Linked DNA regions of Homo sapiens: region 2 is linked to region 1. Evidence: promoter capture Hi-C in 16 types of primary human blood cells and fetal thymus (Javierre and others, 2016). All regions are on one chromosome and are shown on one strand. Each heading gives the region's core, a stretch centred on a gene start or on the middle of the fragment in contact. The rest is flanking DNA. Distances are from core to core; before and after follow the strand shown. Region 1 holds the start of TMEM106B (transmembrane protein 106B). Region 2 has its middle 3.7 kb from the start of THSD7A.

Region 1 (6,408 bases), core at 2,374-4,873:
GGACTTCACTATTAACCAGTCCATTCCTCATGTTTTCAGATGTGACTCCATCATAAGCATCTTCTTTGCTTGAATGCAAAGGCAAATGAGAAAGAGACTTTCCCATGTCTAAAGAAAAATAAAAATCTTACAGTAAACTTCAGGGAAAAAAGTACATTCAAGAACACTCTGAGATATTTACACTAATTAATTTAGAACAGTCAAGGAACAGTCAAACTCTGTAAAATATTTGAAGGGATTTATTCGGAGCCAAAAATGAGTGAACAAGGCCTGAGGCACAGTCTCAACAGGTCCTGAGAAAATGTCCTCAAGGTAGTTGGGTTACAGCTTGATTATACATTTTGGAGACAGAAATTACAGGCAGAGGCATAAATCAATAGATGTAAGGTATACATTAATTCAGCCCAGAAAAGCAGGACATTTTGAAGCAGGGGTGGAAGGCTGGGGGGTGTCCAGGTCATAGGTGCATAGGTGGATTTAAAGATTTCCTAATGGCAATTGGTTGAAACGGTTAAACTCTACCTGAGGAGTTGAAGTCAGCAGAAAGAAATGTTTGTAGTTAAGACAAGGGAGGAGGATGTGGAAGCCAAGGTTCTGATTATCTAGATGATGCCTCCAGGTAGCAGGCTTCAGAGAGAATAGTTTGTAAATGTCTCTTATTACTCCTTAAAATATTCCAGGCTCTTGGTTAAATCGCTGCTGAATTAGGAAAAGATCTGGAAAGGAAAGGGGATTCTGTACAGAATGTGGATCTTCCCCACGAGAGACAGCTTTGCAAGGCCATTTCAAAGAAATATATTTTGGGGTAAGATATTTCAATTTCTCTCAGGGCCTGCTATCTGTCGAGTGATTCTATATTAGAGTCAGGTTGGGATTTGATATCTTATTGCTACAAAGAGACTCTTGTTAGTCTTCAAATCTCTGTTTTAATTGATGCTGGTCAGTTGTGCCTGAATTCCAAAGAGAGGAAGGTACAACGGGGCATGTTCAATCCCCTCCACCCACCTTTTCATCATGGCCTGAACTACCTTTTTAGGTTTACTTTGGAATGCCCTTGACAGAGAAGCGGGTTCCACTTAGTTGGGGGGCTCAGAATTTTATTTTTGGTTTACAGAACAAACATTAAGAGAATGTTCAAACTACCTTTTGGATTATACCTTTTGGATTAGGATTATATCCAATCAAAATAATGTCTGAAACAAAGGAGCCATTTACTAGAGTCCAGAAGTGTTTTTTTAAACAAATAATGTGAAATGATGTCCTATCATGCTTATGATGAGAATGGGCTTTCAAACATTAACATTTGACAAAAGTCTACACCTGCAGGTTCTCTGAAAAGAAACATGCAGGTTTCATTTTTCTTAAAATAAAATAAAAATACATTCTACCTTTTAACTAGTTAGCACTAAAGGCAAAAATTGCTTTGGGTAGACGATAACTAGGTATTTGATGTATATCACCAAGTAACTTCAAAGTAGTACGTTTCAGCCTCTGAAAATTCACGCACCTTTGTGATAAATACAATCACCACTCTTTTCCATCCTTAAATTTCTTGCTTTAAACATTTAAACACTCGCAACAACAATAAAAAGCCCCAAAATTCCAAAATCACAGTTTTTTTTTCATTCAACAGTTGACAGTTAAAATTATGAAGCCAATGTTCCAAAATATTAAATATAAGTTACCAATACAAAGCAGCAAAATTTAGAACACTAACTTCAAAAATTTTAGGATAAGAGTATCAAAATAACAATACAAATGTAAAAATCTAAGTAGAAATAAATAATTAGTACTAGTGCCTACACAAAAATAACTTCTGCAGGTAGATAATGAAGTAACTTTATACTTAAGGTCATACCCTTTTAAAGCTGAAAAGAACTTAACAGTCATATAATACACCCTGCTGGTATTTTCCTGCTTATATCCTGAGAAAAAATAAAGTGAAAAAGTAAAACTGAAAAATAACATAATTATACTCCTTCTAAATTTGATATGTCTTTTAGCGGTTCCTAAAAATAGATTACATACATTCAGACAGATAGTATTTCTTTCAAAAATTCTCACTTATTTGATTAAACAAAACAGACATTCCAAGTAAGTCAGTTCATCCTAGAGTATGAAGAAAATTTTACTTTCTAGAACTGGCATGCCTGATAGGAGCCTGCTTGGTGGGTACAATGTGTGTTGCTCCAGTGCTGGATGCACTAAGGGCTCTGACTTCACCAGGATGTTGTGTATCAATGTAGCAAATGGCACTTGTACTCCATGAATATACACAAAATAAATACAAAGATAAAAAAATAAATAAAATTCGCATGCCATCCACTTGTTGCTGTCACTCAAATAAACAGAATTTAAAAAACTATACAAATGGTATGCAAACAAATGTAAAATGAGATTTTCACTCTTTCAAAAAAAAAAAACTATGTATTTATAAAAATCACTGCCCACATCAAAAATACAAATGATTTATGACTTCTAAAAAATCATTGTCTTAATCAACACCTGTCAGCCACAGGTAGGATAGGGAAGACTTAACATCACTGTCCCCACACACTGTAACCTTGGGGTCTATGCGGAACACTAGATGAATTGGGATCATTGGGCCTTATCAGCAAGGCCTTAAGGGCACTCTTTCTGGGATCTCAGTCAACACAGCCAGGCTGTAAGCTGCATCTTAACTGGAGCGCGTTGAGAAAAAAGACACAGAAAGGCAGACTCAAGTGGCTCTCCGTTTGAGCCTGTTTTCTGTCCTAATCTAATAGCTGCCATGATCGATTCTGCTTTAGGGTAGGTGTTTGGACAAGTGCCAGACTCTGTGAGAAACTGGGAATCCCTTGCCTTCTCTACTAGATTTTCCTTAGAGAACTGACAAGTGTAACCACTTTTATTCTTGGGAGACTCAATGGTTTAAAAAAGGGGTGCTAGACCCTCTTCTGCAACCTCTGTGGGCTCAGTGTTATTTATTATAGCGGTTCCTTAGTTTACTGAAAGTCAACATGGATATCAGACTCAGTTTGGAGAGAAAAAATATATCACAGCACTCCAATTTAAATGGCTCCTGATCTTCTGTGTAGACACTGGTTTTAGTTCTAAAAGGGCTTGAGAACTAAGGAAACAAGCGCCTTTGAAAAGCTCCATAAACAACACCTAGCACAAAGCCTACTCTGTAAAGCTGCAAAATAAGATCCCGGCACCACGGCAAGAACATTCATCAACAGCAAAAGGAAGAGGGCCACCTGGCGCTCAAGGTGTGAGGGCCTAGAGGCAACCCAGAGGTAGGGCTTGGGCCGAAGCCGAGTGTTCCCTGGCTGGGCCTCATTAGAGGCGACACAGCAACTCGATCACCAGCCCTGACCGCCGCCGTACCTGCGGCTGGCCCAGCACCCCAGCGGCCTCCCCTCCTTGTCAGGCCCGGCTCAAGCCGCGGCGCAGCCGCTCAGCCTCGCTCCGGAAGGGGACCTGGGGACTGCACGTCCGGGGTCGCTCACCGGCACGCGGGGCGCTGCGCAGTCCCGGGCTGCTTCGGCGCGGACAGGGCCGAGGACAGGGTCGTGGAGTCCACAGTCCCGGGAGCCGGGGGGTGGAGCGACCGGCCTGGAGCGCGCGGCCGCCGTAGAGCTGGGACGGGGGAGGGGTAGGATAACGACGGCATCAGCAGAGGCCAAGCGCTGCTGTAACCTGCGTCCGCGCCTGCGCAGAGCGCTCCCGGAGGGACACCCCTGGCGTGCGCGTGACGCATGCGTCCTTCTTCCTCCTGTTTGAGCCCAGAGGCGTCGATCGTGTGAGATTGTGCGCTCTTCAGGTTTCATTACCTTCGCGTCCCCCAGACTTCAAAGTGTCCACTGTAGCCACGAATTACCTAGGAACAGTCGCTCCTCCTATTTCCCATATCAGACCATTTCCTTTTGCAAAGGGTATAAATGTGCACCATCTGCCTCAGCTTTCAGCTGAGCAGCCTCCTCGCTCACGCAATGCGAGTTGTCGCTGACAGTCTGGTCCTTAGGAATGGAATAAACTGGTCCGTACACACGCCGCTGACAGCAGCAAAGCTACCTCTATTTTAATTTAGAAACTGGCCAACTAGAAGGAGACAGCAAGCGGCAAGGCCGTAGTTTTTGTTTTTGCTCGGTTTCGTTTCGCTTTGCCCACGCTGCCCCTCCCCACCCCTTAACTCTGGTGCTAGTTACAGGTGTGTGAAATCCCGTCTCGGATCCCAGTACTTAAGCTCTTCGCTGTGGGTTGGGGCTGCCCTCCCCCAACGTCTAGGTCATTTCACTTAGAAGATAAGAACAACGACAAGGAGTCGTTTTGAGGGATCAATGAGATGCCGGTAATAATATTAAGGGCACTCTAGTCTCATTCCTGCGGAGAGTTTAACGTTTAATGAATGGTAGGCATTCTTACAGTCACAGGAGCAAGGAAGTGAGAGTCATATATTTCTCTCTTCTAACAGGATCAGTGTGATCCTGTTAGAATCAGGGAATTCTAACAGGAATTGGGAAATGAAGCTATGTAAAAGTAGGAAATACAAGTCAGAACGATATACAATTTAAGAGGATTACTGTAGATCCATATGTGAGATAATGAGCTTTCTCATACAATGTTGTCGGAGATTTAAAACTCCTAAGTTTTCTGGCAGACAGTCAGTATGTATCAAGACTATTAAAATGTTCACATCGTTTGGTCCAGCAATTCCACCCTTTCAGAAGTATCCTAAACCTAATGAGAACTCTAAAAAGATTTGGGTATGAGGTGTATCCATTTAAATAAACTGAATGTCCAACAAGGGACATTGATAAAATCATTATTTTTCAACCGCTTTTATTTAGCCCATATTTTCCAAAGGGAAGGGTCAGGGTGTCTTCCATTAACACTGTTTGAAATTTCAAAATTAATAGGTTGGTTAAAACAAATCAGAATCATGGGGGAAAATTTTTCTCAAAATTATTGACAGTCCACCTGTGGAGATATGATGTTCCCCTTGGAATTACTGAGTTTTTAAAATTATGGAATAGCCATCTATTGAGTTTTTATAAAGCCAGTAAAAACCATCTTATAAGGCTGTTATACGCGGAGTGATATAAAATTAAAATCAGGATGCAAAGTATAGGATATGAGGTATTGTAATAGGATGTAAACTATATTCACATATAGATAACATATAGATATAAATATATTACATATCTGCCTTGAAATGGAAAGAAATATACAAAATATAAACAGTTGCCTGTAGTTTGAGAGCATGGATGTTTTTTCTTTATTATTGTTAAATAGGCAAATGGTTCTATAATGTAATATATATTATTCTTAAGTGAAAAAGTTACTTTTTTCTTTAATTCTTAAGGGAGTATTTAGTATTTTCTCAACCTCATCATTTAACTTAAAACGTGCTGGCCATATAGCACAGTTCCTTATCCAAATTCCTGGAATTCACATAGGAATAAGTCTTCCTGGGAGAATGTTGCTGTAAGAAGCAGTTCAGTAGCAGGGTTGGGAACACAGCCTTGGGAGCCATATGGCCTGAAAATGAGCCCAGCCTGACAGAGATATACAAAATCTCTGTAAGAGTGGGCAAAATACTTAGCCTTCTTTATACCTAATTTTTATTATCTGCAAAATGAAGATAGTAATAATGTCTGTCTCAAAGGGTTATGGATGGGAGCTGATACCTGCAGAGCAATCAGTAAATATTAGATATTATGATTACAAATTTATCATCCATATAACAAGGAAGTACTTTAAAGACAGATATTGAATGTTTGGTACATTTGTTCCTATGCCTTATTTTTCATTGAAGCACATTTTGAAAGGAAAATTTTCTGAAAAGCTTCCAATTATTTGATTAACAGTGATTTCTTGAGTTCCGAGTTCAGTAGTGGTCTAGGTGCTATCAGATATAAAGGCCAGTAATTTTAACAGTCTGGGATAAGTTTGAATAGAAGAACATTCTTTCTTAATGATTTCTGGTTATATTTAGTATGATGCTGAAGCTAAGGGATTTCTCTAGGTTGTACTAAATCTTGAAAACAGCCTTATCTCTCATTTCAATTCTCTTTTATCTCTTTTAATGGTAAATCACCCAAATCCTAATAGCAGTCAGCCATAACTAAAAATTTTGCAAAAATTACTTTTCTAGAAATTAGCTGTTAAAAATTATAAGCAGAAAAGGAACATAATTATTTTGAAACATATAATTTGTCAAATGTTAATATATAAGTCTCTCTCAGCTCACCCCCTTCCACTGATATGCTGGTCAGATTATGTTAGAAACCTGGATAGGTTACATTGGAAACCAGGGATTGAAAAGATTGAAGTTTGTCTGGCTGATTTTCAGAGATAGTGCCCCAGATACATAGCAAAACTACCATTAGCAAAACTACCATTTCCCGCTGTGCCACCTGACTT
Region 2 (6,408 bases), core at 1,718-4,217, 380 kb after region 1:
AGTGTCTTTTCTGACTACAATGGAATAAAGAGAAAACAATAATATAAAGAACGTTTAAAATTTTTAAATACATGGAAATTAAACAACACATTCCTGAACAATTGAGTCAATGAAGACATTAGAAGGGAAATTAAAGAAACTTGAGACAAATGAAAATGGAAATGGAACATACTAAATCTCATAGGATTTGGCAAAAGTAGTCCTAAGAGGGAAGTTTATAGTTGAGTATAATGTTAGCTATGGGTTTGTCATATATATAACATATATGTGTTTATTTCATTGAGATATGTTCCTTCTATACCTAATTTGTTGACAGTTTTTATCATGACAAGATGTTGATTTTATCAAATGCTGTTTTCTATATCTTTTTAGGTGATAATATATTTTTGACCTTCATCTTGTTGAGGTGATATATCGCTTTATTGATTTATACATATTGAGCCATCCTTTCATCTCTGAGATAAAACCCACTTGATTGTGGTATATTATTTTTGATATGTGGTTGGAATTAGCTTGCTATTATTTTGTCAAGAATATTTGAATCTCTGTTTATTAGCAATATTGGCCTGTAGTTTTCTTTCATTGTTGTGTCATTGTCTAGTTTGGGTATTAAGATAATGCTATACTCATAGAATGAGTTAGGAAGAATGTTTTCATCTTCAATTTTTTGAAAGAGTTTGGCAAGAATACCACTAGTAAAAAATGTTTAACAATATTTCTGCTACCTAGTGCCAGGGTCTTTTGATTCCTTACGTTCCATCTGGGATGAGGTTCTTCCTCATTGTAAGTCCTGCAGTGAGCAATCCATTCCCCAAACTCTGAAAGGTTCTGAAACAGAATACTGTATTTTTTCACCTGATGTTAAAATCAAGGGGTCCAATCATTTGCAGCAGATTTTATTTTCAAACAGGTTTTTTAATGAATAAAATGGAGAAACAATGAGATTAATTTTATGTAAAACAATCTGAAATTTAAAATCTGCTCGTCCCTCATACGTAAATTTACAAACCACCAAAACAACCAAACAACCAACAAACCAACAACAAAACAGTGTCTATTAAGAAAAAAAAAAAAAAGGAAAGAAATGGGAAAGAAAAGAGAGAAGAAATACTAAAGCCGGAATTTGAAAAAACAAAAAAGTAAAATATATAGCTACTTGTAAAGATAAAAGATGAAAATTTCTGTCTTTTAATAAAGGCATACCTCAGAGTTATAGAGAAATCGGTTTCAGACTATTGAAATAAAGCAAATACAATAAAGCAAGTTATGCTAATATTTTGGTTTCCGAAGGCATATAAAAGTTATTGTTAAACTATACTATAGTCTATTCAGTATGCAATAGCATTATGTCTAAAAATGTACATAATTTTAAAATACTTTATTGCTAAAAAATGCCTATGATCATCTGAGCCTTCAGCAAATTGTAGTCTTCTTGCTGGTAGCAGGTGTTGCCTTGATGTCAATGGCTGCTAACTAATCAGGGTGGTAGTTGCTGAAGGTTAAGGTGGTTATGGCAATTTCTTAAATAAGACAGCAATGAAGTTTGCTGCATTGATGGTCTCTTCCTTTCATGAAAGCTTTCTGTGTAATATGTGATGCTGTTTGATAGCATTTTAACCACAGTAGAACTGCTTTCAAAATTGGAGTCAATCATCTCAAATCCTGCCATTGCTTTATTAACTAAATTTATGTAACATTCTAAATCCTTTGTTGTCATTTCAACGCTCTTCATAGTATCTTCACCTGAAGTAAATTCCATTTCAAGAAACTACTTTATTTGCTCATTCCTAAGAAGCAACTCCTCATGTGTTCATATTTTATCGGGAGACTGAAACAATTGAATCACATCTTTAGACTCCACTTTCAATTCTAGTGTTCTTGCTTTTTTAACTGCATCTGTATTGACTTCCTCCAGAGAAGTCTTGAACCCCTAGAAGTCATTCATGAGGGTTGAAATCAACTTCTTTCAAACCTGTTAATATTTGTATTTTGACTTCTTCCCATAAAACATCAATGCTCTTAAAGGTATCTAGAATGGTGAACCCTTTCTAGAAAGTTTTCAAGTGAGTTTGCCCAGATCCATTAGACGAATTATAATGTAAGGAAGCTTAAACCTTACAAAATATATTCCTTAAATAATGACTTGAAAGTCAAAATTACTCCTTGAACCACGGGCTGCAGAGTTGATGTTGTATTATCAGGTATGAAAATATTAATATCCTGTATATCTCCATTAGAGATCTTATTTTCTGATCAGTAGATCTCAACAATGGGCTTAAAATATTCAGTAAACCATGCTCTAAAGAGATGGGCAGTTATTCACCTTTATTGTTACCTTTATAGAGCACAGGCAGAGTAGATTTAGTACATTCTGGAGGGCCCTAGGATTTTCAGAATGGTAAGTAAGCATTGGCTTCAACTTAAAATCACCAGCTGAATTAGACCCTAACAAGAGAGTCAACCTGTCCTTTGAAATTTTAAAGCCAAGCATTGACTTCTCCTCTCTAGCTATTAAAATTTTAGATGGCATATTCCTCTAATAGAAGGCTTTTTTCATTTATGTTGAAAATTGATTGTTTAATGTAGGTACTTTCATCTGTTTATGTTGAAAATTGTTTAATGTGGCTACTTTCATCAGTGATCTTAGCTACATCTTCTGAGTAGCTTGCTACAGCTGCTTCACCTTGCAATTTTGTTGTGAACATGGCTTCTTTCCTTAAACCTTATGAAACAGTCTCTGCCAGCTTCACACTTTTCTGCAGCTTCCTCATGTCATTTGGTCTTTACAGGTTTAAATAGAATTGGGGCCTTTCTCTGGATTAGGCTTTGGTTTAAAGGAATGTTGTGGCTGATTTGATCTTCTATCTAGATCACTAAAGCTTTCTCCATATCAGCAATAAGGCTGTTTTGCTTCCTTTCATATGTGTATTTGCTAAAGTAGTACTTTTAATTTTCTTCAAGAACTTTCCTTTGCATTCACAACTTGGCTAACTGGTGCAAGAGGCCTAGCTTTTGGCCTATCTTGGCTTTTGATATGCCTTCCCTAATAAGCTTAATAATTTTAGGCTTTTGATTGAAAATGAGAGACTTGTAATTCTTCTTTTCACTTGAACGCTTAAAAGCCATTGTAGGGTTATTAATTAGCCTAATTTCAATATTCATATGTCTCAGGGAAAAGGGAGGCCCAACGAGAGAGAGATAGGGAAACAGCCTGTTGGTGGAGAAGTCAGAATACACAACAACATTCATTAATTTAGTTTGCTATTTTATATGGGCACAGTATGTGGTGCCCCAAAATAATTACAACAGTAACATCAAAGATCACAGATCACAGATCACCATAACAGATAGAATAATAGTGACAACATTTGAAAAATTATGAAAATTACCAAAATGTGATAGAGACATGAAGTGAGCACTTCATGTGGGAAAAATTATGTTGATAGACTTGCTCAATGCCAAGTTGTCACAAGCCTTAAATTTGTTAAACAAACAAACAAACAAAAATATGTGTAAAGCACAGTAAAATGAGGTGTACCTATAAACTTGGTGGGTGGGTGTCAAGGGAAGGGGAGGATAGAAAGAAGCCCAAAATAAATTTTGTCTCATCCAAATCTTGGTCAAGTGTGACACCTAGAGGTTGCACAAATAGAATTCCTTTGGGTATTTTTTATTTTTTAGGATGCAAAATGCATTTATGTGGAGAATTATTTTTAAGTTTTTATTTCAAAATGGACATCTTTAGATATTTCCATATGTAATACTATCAATAAATAACTATATTTCTTCACTTTTTTATAATTATAAAACTGTTGATGTTAAAAGTTGTTTCCCTTTCCATCAAGGAACTGAATATTTCATAATTGTTTTAAAATATTGATACTAATGACTAAAAGTCATTGTCATGAGTCTCATGAGTTGTAATATATATTTATATGTTTATGTTCTAATAAAAGAGAAAACAGATGTGTATAGGTATGTTCACATCCTTACCTCTGGAGTTTAGAAATGATAGCAAAATTAATAGAGGCAGAATAAAGACACCTATCACATGAGAGGTGATAAGTTTAGAATTTTTTCATTTCTAAATATTAAAAAAATATGCTTTGCATTTGTCATTCATTGGTTTGGAGAACTTTTATCGCACTGGCTCATTAATATTTGAACAGTTCTCCATGAAAAATGACGAACGATTTACTTCATGGCAGGCTGTACAGATGGTCAATTTAATCTGCATCCTTGAGACTTCTCATGACTAAATTTTGACATCATGTCATTAAACATTTGTGTATTATTATTTATGTCATATTCTAGGAAACAAATATTGCTATGTCTTGCTATCTCTTGCCATCTATCAGTTTTATTGATAGGATTTATCTACCTAGACACTATACCTTTCACAAAGGAACACATATCAGGATATATACATCACTTTTGTCTCCTCAGAGACCCATACATTTTTGTCCTCAAGTGCAATAATGACATTGTTATGAACAAATGTGTGGCAGGTGTGGAGACAAATGTTTATATGACTTGGATTCTCTAACCTTGTTCAGAGATATCTTTGCTGATGATTGTGTGTGTTTGTGTATGTGCATGTGTGTGTGTGACTCCTAGGCCTTGTGTACGTTGAAATTGAAAGAAGGAAACCAAATGTTGGCTATTTTGAAACAGTACTGCAGAACATATCACCATAATTGTGTATTGTAAATGGCAGCAAATTGGAACCTAGAAATTGACCCCGTATAATGCTTGAATTTGTAGCTATGATGTTTACACTCTTGACAAGTTGAGTTATTATTATACCACCATGGGTAAATATAAAGGTCAGAATCTTAAAATTTCTTTTGACAATAAGCTATTAAGTATAGTGTCGGATGGCTTTTTGAAGGGCTAGGTAAATGACCTTGCACATTAACTTAATTCCTCAGACTCTCTGTCCTCTGTTATATAATGAATTCCCACTTGGTGAATTGATTGGCGCTTCCCACGAATGCGTAGAATGGCTGCTGTTAGCAGAGTATGTCCAGTTTGAAATACTTCCTGTGCCAGAGTTAGAGGATTTCAAGGTTTAGGGCACTAACAGTAGCTGAGAAATACAAGCAGAAAGGATGGGAAAATGATTCCTTGTGGAGTGGACATGGAAATTTTCCTGAAACGACAGAACCCAGGAAGCAATAGCAGGTCCCATTTCCTTCTGTGGTGTAACTGTCAAAAGAAGTGATCCTTCAGGGAACCATACATTAGTTAAGATCAGGCTTCCTTTTTATTCCTTATCAACCTATAATCTTTTGATTGTTGCCTGTTTTTCACGAGTGAAGAAATAGTAAGCCACACTAGCTTATCTCTCCTAATCACAGACTCACAGCGCTCGGGCTCTCTGAGCTTTTAATTCCTTCTTAGAGGCCTAACAGAGCGGAAAGTAAACAAAGACCAAATTTGCAACCTTCAACGTAGCTAATTTCCTCTGATGTCAGAATACTTAAACAGGCAGGACCTGGGAATTATTTGATCAAACCCGCTTTTAATCTAATGCATGCAGAGGGGCTGTGTCTGGAAGGCTTTGCAAAATGACAAGGGTCCCAAGGGAGCCTTATGGAAGGTTTCCTCTTTCAGAAAGAGTAGCTTCCTCATCTTAAACTCTAGGGTAGCTATGTTGGAGTAAATTCATAAAAAGTAGTTTTCCTGCTTTTAAAATTTTATTTTATTTGGCTGAAAATTGCTGATGGGATAGTAGTTTTCTTTGGCTTTCCGTTTGCTGAATTTTTAATGGTTAAATGCCTACTATTTTAGCTTTACTGTGAAATGAATTAATAATAAAATATATTATTATTAGCTAAAGGGAGAAGGAGAAAGGGGAAAGCATTATCCGACTTCACACACATTCTTCTATTACTACTGGTAGAAGAAAGTGAAAACACAAAGGACAAAAGATGCAAACACATGTGGTTCCTTATTTAGATTGCGACAGGCATTTTGCTACAGTAAGAGTTAAGAAAAATCGGTGTCAGGGAAATTTTAAATGAAGAATTTACTAATTCCAAGATATCCAGACAGCATTACTGACTCAGTTTGACTCACAACTATCTGAATACTTAGAAGTAGCATATTTTTGAGGGAAAGAAGTAGATGAAGGGACAGAACTCTATACCTGAAATATAATTTTAATTTTAAGGGTTTTTTTTTTGTACAATTGTATTTATGTAATTAGGTAGCATTGCAAATACTCATTAACACTAATTCAGTTTTAAAGGCTATTAAAAGACAATTTAATTTGTCACAGAGCATCAATATTGCTCATATTTTTATTGATAATAGATTAAGTTAAAAACAACATTTAAAGAAGGGTTTAAGTGCATTTTGACAAGTCAACATTTCTGCTCTCGTGTTTTCACACCTGATCTCAAA

Evidence for each region. Contacts are between HindIII fragments. The CHiCAGO score rates a contact against its expected background, and 5 or more counts as called.
Region 2: a contact is called between a fragment that was not itself captured here and the fragment with the promoter of TMEM106B in region 1, in 1 of 17 cell types (endothelial precursors). The highest score is 5.6, in endothelial precursors.

The regions. Positions count from the first base shown.
Region 1 is chr7:12,208,509-12,214,916 of GRCh38, reverse strand. It overlaps TMEM106B (transmembrane protein 106B), which reads right to left and starts at 3,623. Exons shown (of 8, transcript NM_001134232.2): 1 at 3,492-3,623; 2 at 1-108. The coding sequence starts at 106. RefSeq lists enhancers at 2,906-3,422, 3,815-3,864, 3,423-3,941, 4,075-4,224 and a silencer at 3,325-3,634. The HindIII fragment of the contact is 6,470 bases long and covers 1-5,832 here.
Region 2 is chr7:11,832,678-11,839,085 of GRCh38, reverse strand. No RefSeq gene overlaps it. Among named protein-coding and RNA genes, the nearest start is that of THSD7A, 3.7 kb to the right of the region's middle. RefSeq lists an enhancer at 6,211-6,408. The HindIII fragment of the contact is 172 bases long and covers 2,882-3,053 here.